Linked DNA regions of Homo sapiens: regions 1 and 2 are each linked to region 3. The links are contacts of gene promoters, found by promoter capture Hi-C in human tissues and cell types (Jung and others, 2019). All regions are on one chromosome and are shown on one strand. The core of a region is centred on a gene start or on the middle of the fragment in contact, and the rest is flanking DNA. Distances in the headings are between cores, read along the strand shown. Region 1 overlaps SLC25A17 (solute carrier family 25 member 17). Region 2 holds the start of SLC25A17 (solute carrier family 25 member 17). Region 3 holds the start of EP300 (EP300 lysine acetyltransferase).

What was found. The method cuts DNA at HindIII sites, captures the fragments that hold promoters and counts their contacts. A contact is called where the count stands out against the background at its distance.
Region 1: a contact is called between a fragment that was not itself captured here and the fragment with the promoter of EP300 in region 3, in 2 of the 25 tissues and cell types used here (IMR-90 fibroblasts and lymphoblastoid cells).
Region 2: a contact is called between the fragment with the promoter of SLC25A17 here and the fragment with the promoter of EP300 in region 3, in 1 of the 25 tissues and cell types used here (adrenal gland).

What each region holds. Positions count from the first base shown.
Region 1 is chr22:40,800,585-40,804,063 of GRCh38, reverse strand. The region is part of intron 1 of SLC25A17 (solute carrier family 25 member 17); the gene reads left to right. Among named protein-coding and RNA genes, the nearest start is that of MIR4766, 12 kb to the left of the region's middle. The HindIII fragment of the contact is 6,915 bases long and covers 1-3,479 here.
Region 2 is chr22:40,817,431-40,820,876 of GRCh38, reverse strand. It overlaps SLC25A17 (solute carrier family 25 member 17), which reads left to right and starts at 1,531. Exons shown (of 9, transcript NM_006358.4): 1 at 1,531-1,682. The coding sequence starts at 1,629. The HindIII fragment of the contact is 14,485 bases long and covers 1-3,446 here.
Region 3 is chr22:41,091,089-41,094,659 of GRCh38, reverse strand. EP300 (EP300 lysine acetyltransferase) reads right to left here and starts at 2,068. Exons shown (of 31, transcript NM_001429.4): 1 at 1,562-2,068. The coding sequence starts at 1,655. MIR1281 (microRNA 1281) reads right to left here and starts at 2,147; the gene lies at 2,094-2,147. RefSeq lists an enhancer at 1,378-1,617 and silencers at 1,728-1,827, 2,008-2,777, 2,878-3,167. The HindIII fragment of the contact is 16,440 bases long and covers 1-3,571 here.

The DNA of each region.
Region 1 (3,479 bases), core at 253-2,752, 290 kb after region 3:
CCTGTGTCAGTGTCGTCTGGAGAAAAAGCTCTTGATGATATCTAATAGCTGTTATTCACATCAAAACTCTCTAAGGCCCTCCACCTATTTTCTCGTTTATGGGAAATGAAACATTCAGAGAAAGGACTTGCCCAGTCACCTCAGATGGCTCAGCTGGAAACTAGAAGTGAGATCCGACATAGTGGAAATGTGTAGCATACGGTGAGCCACTTTCCAACTTAGCCATTAAAAAAAAAAAAAAAACAAAAACTAGCAAATGCTGGTGAGGATACTGAGAAAAGGGAACTCTTGCACACTGTTGATGGGAATGTAAATTGGTACAGCCATTATGGAAACATTATGGAGGTTCCTCAAAAAATTAAAAATAGAACTACCATATGATCCAGCAATCCCATTACTGGGTATATATCCAAAGGAAATGAAATCAGCGTGTCAAAGAGACCTCTGCATATCTGTGTTAATTGCAGTGCTATTCACAGTAGAAAAAATGTGGAATCAATGCTTATCTACAGATGAATGGATAAGAAAAATGTAAATATACCAATGGGAATTTTATTCAGCTGTAAAACAGAATGAAATCCTGCCATTTGTGGTGACATGGATGAACCTGGACAATAAATATTATGTTAAGTGAAGTAAGCCAGGCACAGAACAAACATCACATGATCTTACTCATAAGTAGAATCTAAAAAAATTGATTTTATAGAAGTAGAGAGTAGAATAGTGGTTACCAGGGGCTAGAGATGGTAGGAAGGAGAGGGGGACCAGGAGAGGTTAGTTAAAGGGTACAAAGTTTCATTTAAGTCAGGTACTGTGGTGGCACAGGGCTGCAGTTCCAGCTACTCGGGAATCTGAGGCAGGAGGATCGCCTGAACCCAGGAGTTCAAGGCCAACTTGGGCAACACAGGGAGACCCCATCTCTTTAAAAGAAGAAAAAGTTAGACATGAATAAGTTCTGGTGTTCTATTACAAACTATGGTGACGATAGCAAATAACAATGTCGTGCGTATTTCAGGATAGCTAGAAGAGAAGATTTCCGATATTATCACCACAAAGAAATGATGTTTAAAGTAATGGGTGTGGTAATTACCCCAGTTTGATCATTATACAGTGTGTACATGCATTGAAACACTACACTGCACCCTATAAACATGTACAATTATTACATGGCACTTATAAATAAATAAATTTTGAAATGTCTCACTGTGGTATTCTTTTAATTCTCATCTACCAATTAGACCCCTTTTTGTTTTTCTATATAGTCCTTTTATATAAAAATCTGTTCTCATTATTAATCATTGGAGTAGGGAGGAGGCAGTGGTGGGTTTTCAGCTAACCCTCTTGATCCAGTCTTTCCAGTGCTACTAAATTTATAAAACTGTTACTTGGTGTTACTCATTTGAATTTTCTTTTTTTTTGAGAAGGAGTTTCCCTCTTGTTGTCCAGGCTGGAGTGCAGTGGCACGATCTTGGCTCACTGCAACCTCCGCCTCCCGGGTTCAAGTGATTCTCTTGCCTCAGCCTCCCAAGTAGCTGGGATTACAGGTGCCCACCACCACGCCTGGCTAAGTTTTGTATTTTTAGTAGAGGGGGAGTTTCACCATGTTGGCCAGGCTGGTCTCGAACTCCTGACCTCAGGTGACCCATCTGCCTCGGCTTCCCAAAGTGCTGGGATTACAGGCTTGAGCCAACGTGCCTGGCCTGATTTGAATTTTCATATGCCAGTTCTTGAGGTAGTAATAGACCAATGAGCTGTTTGGGCTGACTGTTCTCTTTATCTTGGTGTTTCACTTCAAGATATCCAGATAGGTAGGCAAGGACTTCTATGTTTAGGAACCTTCACGTGTCTATTTAAAGCTGGCAGAAAAGAGGGATGAAGGTGGCCCAGTGTTTGAAGAGGTAGCTTCCAGGCTAGACTTTTTCTGTCTGGAGATGCCCTGTCTATGCAGTACCCTTCAAAGAAATGCAGTACCGGCCAGGCACGGTGGCTCACGCCTGTAATCCCAGCATTTTGGGAGGCCGAGGCGGGTGGATCACCTGAGGTCAGGAGTTCGAGACCAGCCTGGCCAACATGATGAAACCCCGTCTCCACTAAAAATACAAAAAATTAGCTGGGCATGGAGGCGGGCGCCCTTAATCCCAGCTACTCGGGAGGCTGAGACAGGAGAATCGCTTGAATCCAAGAGGTGGAGGTTGCAGTGAGCCGAAATCCCGCCATTGCCCTCCAGTCTGGGCAACAAGAGCAAGACTCCGTCTTAAAAAAAGAAAAGAAAAGAAATGCAGTACCATGCGATAGAAAATGAGTGCCAGAGCCTTAATAAACTTAATAAGCTTTCTCTAACTTTCCAGCTCCCATTTTTCTTGGAAATTGCCTCCTGAAGATGAGCAAGGATGCTGGATGCATGGATTTGTAGGATTTGTAAAGCTTTGTGGGTTCAGTGTTTTGTGAGACATTGAATATCATTTAGTCGTTGAGTGTCATTTCTTGAAACATTGAGTATCATTTAATCATTTATCATGACTAGAAAAGAACAGTTATGTTGGGGTCATCAAAAAAGCATAAATAAGTGAAAGTACAGTGAATTGAATAAATGTTTAATTGAGAATCTAGGATGTGCACAGATATAGAAAGAATGCTCTCACAAATTAGCAGAAGAGTTGGATTTCACTGTAGTATATGTGCTGAAAGAGCCATAAATAAGTGCTAATGGCACCCTAGAGGACTGAACAACCAATTGTAAGCTGATAGGCGGGGAGAGGTAACAATATGTGTTTTGAAGAATACAAATATTAGAGTATTCTCCCTTGTCATGGAGGCTGACCTATTTAAATTGATAATAGGCCTACCAAATTTTCTTATTTAAGTTGACCTAGCTCCTAGTTATTTATCATTTACATATATATATATATATATATATATATATATATATATATATGTAATATATTTTTTTCTTTTTTCTTTTTTGAGACAGAGTCTCTTTTGCCCAGGCTGGAGTGCAGTGGCATGATCGCGGCTCACTGCAACCTCCATCTCCCTGGTTCAAGCAATTCCCCTGCCTCAGCTTCCCAAGTAGCTGGGATTACAGGCATGTGCCACCAGGCCCAGCTAATTTTTTTGCATTTTTAGTAGAGAGGGGATTTCACCATGTTGGTCAGGGTGGTATCAAACTCCTGACCTCATGATCTGCCCACCTTGGCCTCCCAGAGTGCTGGAATTGATTACAGGCGTGAGCCATCATGCCTGGCCTTTATTCAAAATTTTTTTTTTTTTTTTTGAGGCAGACTCTCGCTTTGTCACCCAGGCTGGAGTGCAGTGGCACGATCTTGGCTTACTGCAACCTCTACCTCATGATTAAAATACTGTATGAAGCCAGGTGCAGTGGCTCACACCTAGTACTCCTGCACTTTGGGAAGTTGAGGCCAGAGAATCACTTGAGGCCAGGAGTTTGAGGTCAGCCTGGGTAAATATAGTGAGACTCT
Region 2 (3,446 bases), core at 282-2,781, 270 kb after region 3:
AAAAAGCTGATCAAAATGTTTTTGGTATGTAAGATACAAAAACGTCAAAACAAAGTATTAACAATGTTTTCATAACTATGATGCATAATCCAGTATATTCTTGACAGCAAGCTCCCAATTTGATCAGGAGTCAATGAGAACTGAGTTCTCAAGTTTTACAGCCAACTAGTTTCTATGTTCCCATGCCAAAATAATCTTTTTTTTTTTTTTTTTAGGAGTCTCACTCTGTCCCAGGCTAGAGTGCAGTGGTGCAATCTTGGCTCACTGCAACCTTTGCTTCCTGGGTTCAAGCGATTCTCCTGCCTCAGCCTCCCTAGTAGCTGCAGTTTCAACATTGTAATTTCTACAAGGCGCGTGCCACCATGTCCGGCTAATTTTTTCTATTTTTAATAGAGACAGGGTTTTGCCATATGGGCCAGGCTTGTCTCAAACTTCTGACCTCAAGTGATCTGCCCGCTACGGCCTCCCAAAGTGCTAGGATTACAGGCCTGAGCCGCTGCGCCCAGCCCAAAATCATCTTCGCTTCACTTTTGGTCCTTCACTTTCACGTCATGATTCTATGGCGTGATGGGAATGTTCCTGGAAGCAGTATCTTCTGCAAATTTTGTGAAAACGGCCAGGTTAAACTTTGTTAGACCCCTCTCCCAGGGATTAAGTGTGATGATGGGCATAAAACACTAAGCCTGGCATGTAGTCAGCACTGAGGAGTTATCACGAGGATATTCTAAAAGGAAACATGGTAAAGACAAGTGGTGATGGTGTCTCAGGAAAGAATCCCTGAGTCCCTGAGGAGCATCCTGAAGCAGAATCTCACAGTATGACAGGTTAAAGCTGAATGTGGCTGCTTTAGTTTTGTGTAATTTTGTTAGTCACTTTGCAACATGGAAAAAAATTTTTTTCCTTCAGTATTTTATGAAGTACTACTACATAAATTGGCTTTCGTAATCCTCACAGCAGATGGGGATTGTTGGTACTAGTACATTGTCATTTCACAGAGGAAACCCAAGAGGTTAAATGACTTCCATAGTTGCCAACTAGGGGGAGGCTCCCACTCGCGTCTTGTATTTTGGGCTCCTGATGCTCAACATCTCTTCCCACCACACTCAAGGGTTTTTCTGGAGGAAGAAGTTTCCAAGTCCACAAGTGAGTTTTTTTCCTCTTGGCCAAAATGTGACTTTCAGAATAGAAAAGAGCTCAGGCGCAGAGAAACAGGGAGACTGGAGTCTCATTGAGTTTCCCCATCTTTGTCACCAGAGTAAAAGAAGGCCATTAAGACTTCTGAGATGGAGGAACTGGTCAGGGCCCGGGAACGCCAGAGAACGTCGGAGGAACCGGGAGCCGGGTACCTGGTGTCAGGCCGCCTTGCGCCTTGGAGCCCAGCCCCGCGAACACCTCGCTGTCCCGCCCCGCGCCCACAGGGGCCAATCAGCGTTCAGGGGCGTTCTTAGCCGCCCCCCCCCCCCCGCTTTCCCGCCCCGCGACCCGGAAGTGGTTCTAGGGCAGGCGGGCGGGTTTGAGAGGGCGGGGATTGCGACTCTCACACCCTGAGCTCCGGTGCTCCTTTCCTAACTCCACTGGCTGCGGCATCTGTGGGAAAAGTGTGGCTGGGTCTTCGAGGAGCCGCACCAATGGCTTCCGTGCTGTCCTACGAAAGCCTGGTCCACGCCGTGGCCGGAGCCGTGGTGAGACGGGGTCTTTACGCCCGGGCCGCAACGGGTTATAAGGCTTCTCGGGGGCCAGTCCCGGGATATGCCTGAGGGATGGGTCTGAGAGGGAGGTAGTGTGGGTTGGGGTCCACTGTCATGACTGTGGGGCAGAGAGGAATGGGCCATTGGCGGAAAGTTGTTGGAGGAATTCGGGGTAAGGGCCGAGACTCCGCCACCTCCTGGTCTCCTAGAGACTGCGGGGTAGAGAGCCGTGTTCACACGTGCCCGCTCAGGGTCCGCATCTTTGCCGTGGGAAGTTTAAGGTCAGGCTACCACCGCACACTCACACACTTTGCTTTACTGGCCCGGAGGAGAACGTAGGTGTGAAGCCGTGTTGCTTAGTCACATGCTTCCCTACAGCCTGTCTTCACGCTTGCCGCGGGCAAGTGGCAATACCTAGTAGGATAGCTCTGGGCACCGTTATTGGCAGGAGAAGATAGATCCTTTTTTTTTTTTTTTTTTTTCCGGACAGGGTCTTGCTCTGTTGCCCAAGCTGGAGTGCAGTGGCGCGATCACGACTCACTGCAGCCTCGATCTCCCGGGCTCCAGCGATCCGCCCACCTCAGCTTCCTGAGTAGCTGGGACTGCAGGTGTGAGCCACCACACCCGGCTACATTTTTAAAAAAAATTTTTGGGGTCTGGCAGTGTTGCCCAGGCTGGTCTCGAATTCCTGGCCTCAAACGATCCTCTCGATTTGGCGTCCTAAACTGCTGGCATGAGCCACTGTGCCTGGCTTTTTTTTCTTTCTTTCTAAATCAAGATCTGGGTTCCTGTCTACCACAAGTGTGGTTTGTTATGAGGTATACGCTTGATTCTTGGGCTTCTGGTGTCTAGGTTCCACTTGACACTTCCCCTCTCCCCTCTTTTCCTTAAAACTTTCCACTTTTGGCTTGGGTGACTCCTCTTGTGGTTCTTTTATCTCTTTGACTGCCTTTTCTCATATTCTTCACCAGTTGTTAGCACACACCTTTAGCTGTTAAAATCACTGTGACTTCAGAGGAACATCACTGAATCCTCTGTTTAGCCTCCAGAAACTTCACTGAGAGCTCACCTTCTCTGTAGACTAATCTGGATTTAACCCTAACTCCATCATTTGTTAGCTAGATGCCCTGTAAACCTTACTTTCTTAATCTGTAAAGTGGGGGAAGTGATACCTACCTCACAGAGTTTAGAGAATTAAGTGACACAGCATTTCATGAAAATGCCTAATTCAGGAAGCCTGGTTCATTCAGTTCAGCCAGAAGAGCCTTTCAGCCAGCATGAAGGCTGAGATGGACGCTTGCGTGACTTGCTTTAAGATGGGCATGGAGGCCTGTGTTTCCGGAGTGGAGGGAACAAAGAGGCAAATAGGTTTCAGGGGGCCAAATTGTGTGAGACTTTCACTCTGGCTAGCTGTTGAACTTGCTGATTTACCTTTAAACGTGATCACCCTGGCTGCTGTGTTGAGAGTAGAATGTAAGGGAACAGGGGACAAGCAATTATCAGGCGAGAGATGATGGTGACTTGGATCCGGGTGGTAGCAGACATGGTAGAAGTGATCATTGACCTGGAATATATTTATAAAATGAGGGTTGGTTGACTCCAAGAGTTTTTGGCTTCAGTAACTGGAGGGATGGTGGTATTTACTGGGATGGCAGAGGCTGTGAAGGAGAAGGTTTTGGGGGAAATGATAAATTTGGCTTTGGTTTTGGAGGAGTTTGAAATGCCTAAGAGTAGTCGTGAGACTAGATGAGCTCACTA
Region 3 (3,571 bases), core at 819-3,318:
AAAATGTTTCTGAATGGCACTTTAGTAGGTGCAAAGGAATACAACGACGTTTGTGTATGTGTATGAATTCTGAAGGAAAAAACCAGCTAAAAAAATCCCTGGAGACTACAGTACCTTCATAGAATAGGTACAGATCAAAGTTCATGCATAATCAATGTTACAAGCCTTAGGTAGAGGAACTCGCAAGATTCCTACTTCTCAATTTTTGCAGGTTAACTTAAATTCATTTCACATCTTTCTTATAAAAGCAACGAATTCAAAGCATTAGCTCTGTCTTCCCATTTTCACCCTCTGAAATGAAGCCTATTTAGAAACATGCTCTCGAAGTTCTCTACAAACTCAAAGGGTACATTTAACTCCATTATGCACTCTCACTGGCAGATGGAGGGATGACGCTGAGCCTGCTCTCAGGGAGTTAAAGAGATGCTCCGTAGTAAAGGGGAACATCTTGTGGACTGTCAGATGGCCAGCCATTCTTCATCTTCATTATCCCAGCAAAGAAAAGGTCCTTACCCATCAGGATAACACCATTAAACTAACTGTAAGAAAAGAATGAAGGGATGATGGAAGAAGTCTCCCTGAACTTCTCCTGACAAAGGAGCTAGTCCACAACTGAATGAACTGGTCGTAAAGCTTTTAAACGAAAATCTTGATCTCCAAGTATGTTTAAAAGTGTAAAAAGACAAAGACACACACAAACACCAAACCTAATGCACATTTTAAACTTTTGTACAATCAGTTCACGTTTGTAGTTCATGATTGGAACTCTTTCAACTTCTAACCTTGATTTCCAGGTACGTAACTCCACAAAATTGTTTATCTTATTTCCCCTAAAATGAGAAAGTGACTGCAAACTGCAAAGAACATGCCCCTGTTCTCCCAACCTAAAAACCCAGAGTTTCAGACATTTTGGTCTCACACCAAAGAACTGGGAGATGTGAAATGAACTGCGCTCCATATTGATTCTTAAAGCAAATAAGAAGAAAAAGGAAAAAAAAGCTAAGAATGGTAGGTAAGATAAAAGAATTGTTAAACTTCACCTCTAACCTGAAATCTTGGACCTCGCACACACAAAATCAAGATTTTTTTACACCCTATTCCTCAACAGAAAATATTCTGCAAAGGAGAGAAAATTTCGAAGAGTGGAAAGTAGAGGAAACACAGTAAGTACAGTAAAGAGAAAGGATTCGAAATTCATTTGCCAAGAACAAAAAAAATGAAACTTAAATTGCATAGGAGCTCTTACACACAAATGCATTGGCATTTCCCAAATTAAATTGCATGAGAGCAACAATACAGGCCATTTCTATATAGCACCCACTTACGAGCTCTAATTCCAGAACACACACCGATATGACATAGTGTTGCAATCAATGTATTAGGAGGCAAAGAAAATGGTTGGGCTACTGGACGTCTTCGACCAGCTCATTCAAATACCTTTAAAATTAATTAAGGGGCAGGGAACTAGAGAGAGAGGAAGAAAAAAAAAATGGAAGAATAAAGGCGCACCGAGTAGAAAAGATTAAAGGGAACGTGGAAGGCCGGGGCTGCCGAAACTAACCTGTGCCATCGCTGGCGGACGCCGAGAGGGCCGGAGATGAGAGTTTAGGCCGCTTGGCTGAAGGCGGCCCCGGTTCCACCACATTCTCGGCCATTTTTAATTCTTTCGGAGATACAAGCGAGGAAAACCAGAATCCTCAGGAAATCTCTTCTTCGGCCCGGGGTCCCCGCGCCGCACCCAGGGGTGGGCTGGGGGGCTCCGACGGCACCCGAGGGGGTGGGGGAAGTTCCTTTTTCTCTTCGCCGGGTCGCAGTGGCTGGAGAGGGATGCGGACTCGATAGAAAAGGTAAGGGCAAGTGCGAGGGGCCGGGCCTGGGCCCAAGCCCGGAGGAGGGCACAAGAGCACAAATTCGCCGAGCGCGTCCGCTGCGGCGAATTCCCGAGAACTCGCGGCTCTAGAGGCGCAGTCCCCGGCCCGCCACGGCCGGCCCCTGCCCAGCCGAGGTCTCTCGGAGCTCCGCCGCCGCCATCAACCTCTTCCTCCTCGGCGCTGTCCTCCTCCTTCTCATCGCCACAAGGAGGCGGGGGCGAAAAGGGGGGAGAGGAGGAGGCGACAAGAGACACTCACCTCCTCCCGGTGCCCCCTCCCGGGCCTGCGCCCCCACCCTCCGAACCCTCCTCCTGCCGCCGCGCTCCGCGCCGCCGCCGCCGCACCGGCCCCTAATGGCCGCAGAGAACTCGCCCGAGCCGAGAGCCAGGCTGGCGCCGCCGCCTCACATCGCGCGGCGGCCGGCGGAGGCGCGGCAAGGACGCCGGGAGCGGAGCTGGCCGGACCAGAGGGCCGAGGGGGCCGGGCCGAGCAGCGCCGCCCGCACGCCCGCGCCGACGCGGAGCCCACCGAGGAGGCCCCGCTCCGGCGGCGGCGCAGGCGGCCCCTCCTCGCGCCGCGCTCCCCTCCTTCGCCTTCCTTTCCCGCGGAAAATAAATAAATACGGCCGCTGCTACGGCCCCCACCGCCGGCGGCCAGGTGCTGGGAGCGCCCGCCCCCCGGGGCTCCGTTCGGGGCCGCCCGCGGCGGCGGGAGAAGACGCCGCGGGGCGCGGGGTTATGTAATGGTCCCCCCTAGGCGTCGACGCCGGCCCGGCTGCTGGACCGCGGTGGGGGTGTGTGCGGACGGGAGGGGGCTGGGGGTCGCCTCAGCCCGTGCGCCCCGGGCCCCCTGCCACTGTCTCGGCCCCTGCCGCCTCTCTCCGACCCGACTCCCCTCCGCACTCTCTGGCTCCCGCAGTTAGCACTCAGCCCGGCGTCCTGCTTGCCCACTCTCGCCCGCTCTCTCTCGCCCTCTCTCCCCCCCAGCCTAGCACACAAACAAGATGGCGGCTGTTGTTTCTTCCCTCTGCCGAATCCTCCTTACAGGCTAGCGGTAGCGGCGGCGGCCGGAAATGAGCCAAGGGGGGGTGGAAAAGGGGAGTGGCCGGGCCTCCGGAGGGGGGCGGGGCCTAGGCCCGAGCCGCTCACACAATGGGGGAAGTGGAGCCGGGGGCGGGGCCTGTCCCAATCACGGGATCCGCCCTAGGCCCCAACGCGGTTAGCGCTTCCGCAAACTCCCCCGGCGTCACCCTGTGGCTCCCTTTAAAGGGGAGGATTTTAAGAGTGGGGAGGATTTTAAGGGGGGAGGGGCGGGGGCGGACTCAGAATCTATTTTCAGTCGGTGGATAGTTACGAGGGAAGGTTCCTGCCTTTGGTCTCTGCGTAAGGGACCAGTGGGAACCGGGACGACGGAACCCCGGAGCTGCTCCGAGGAAGGCGCCAAGTCGCCACTCAGGTGGCCAAATGGGAGCGCCCGTAGGGCGGCCCTGCTCTTCGGCCCTTGGGTGGCGGGTCCCCCAAAACCCCGGTCGAATTCACCAGGCAGGGTGTACCCACTGCCGGCTGTTCCGGGCCAGATACCCAGTGCGTCCTCACTTCTCCATTGCCCTCCCAAAGGGAGCAGTTCACATCCAAAAAGCACGTTGATTACGAGTTGTTTTCATTTTCTCTGAATTTTCCTTTTCCTTTTTATGTATTATT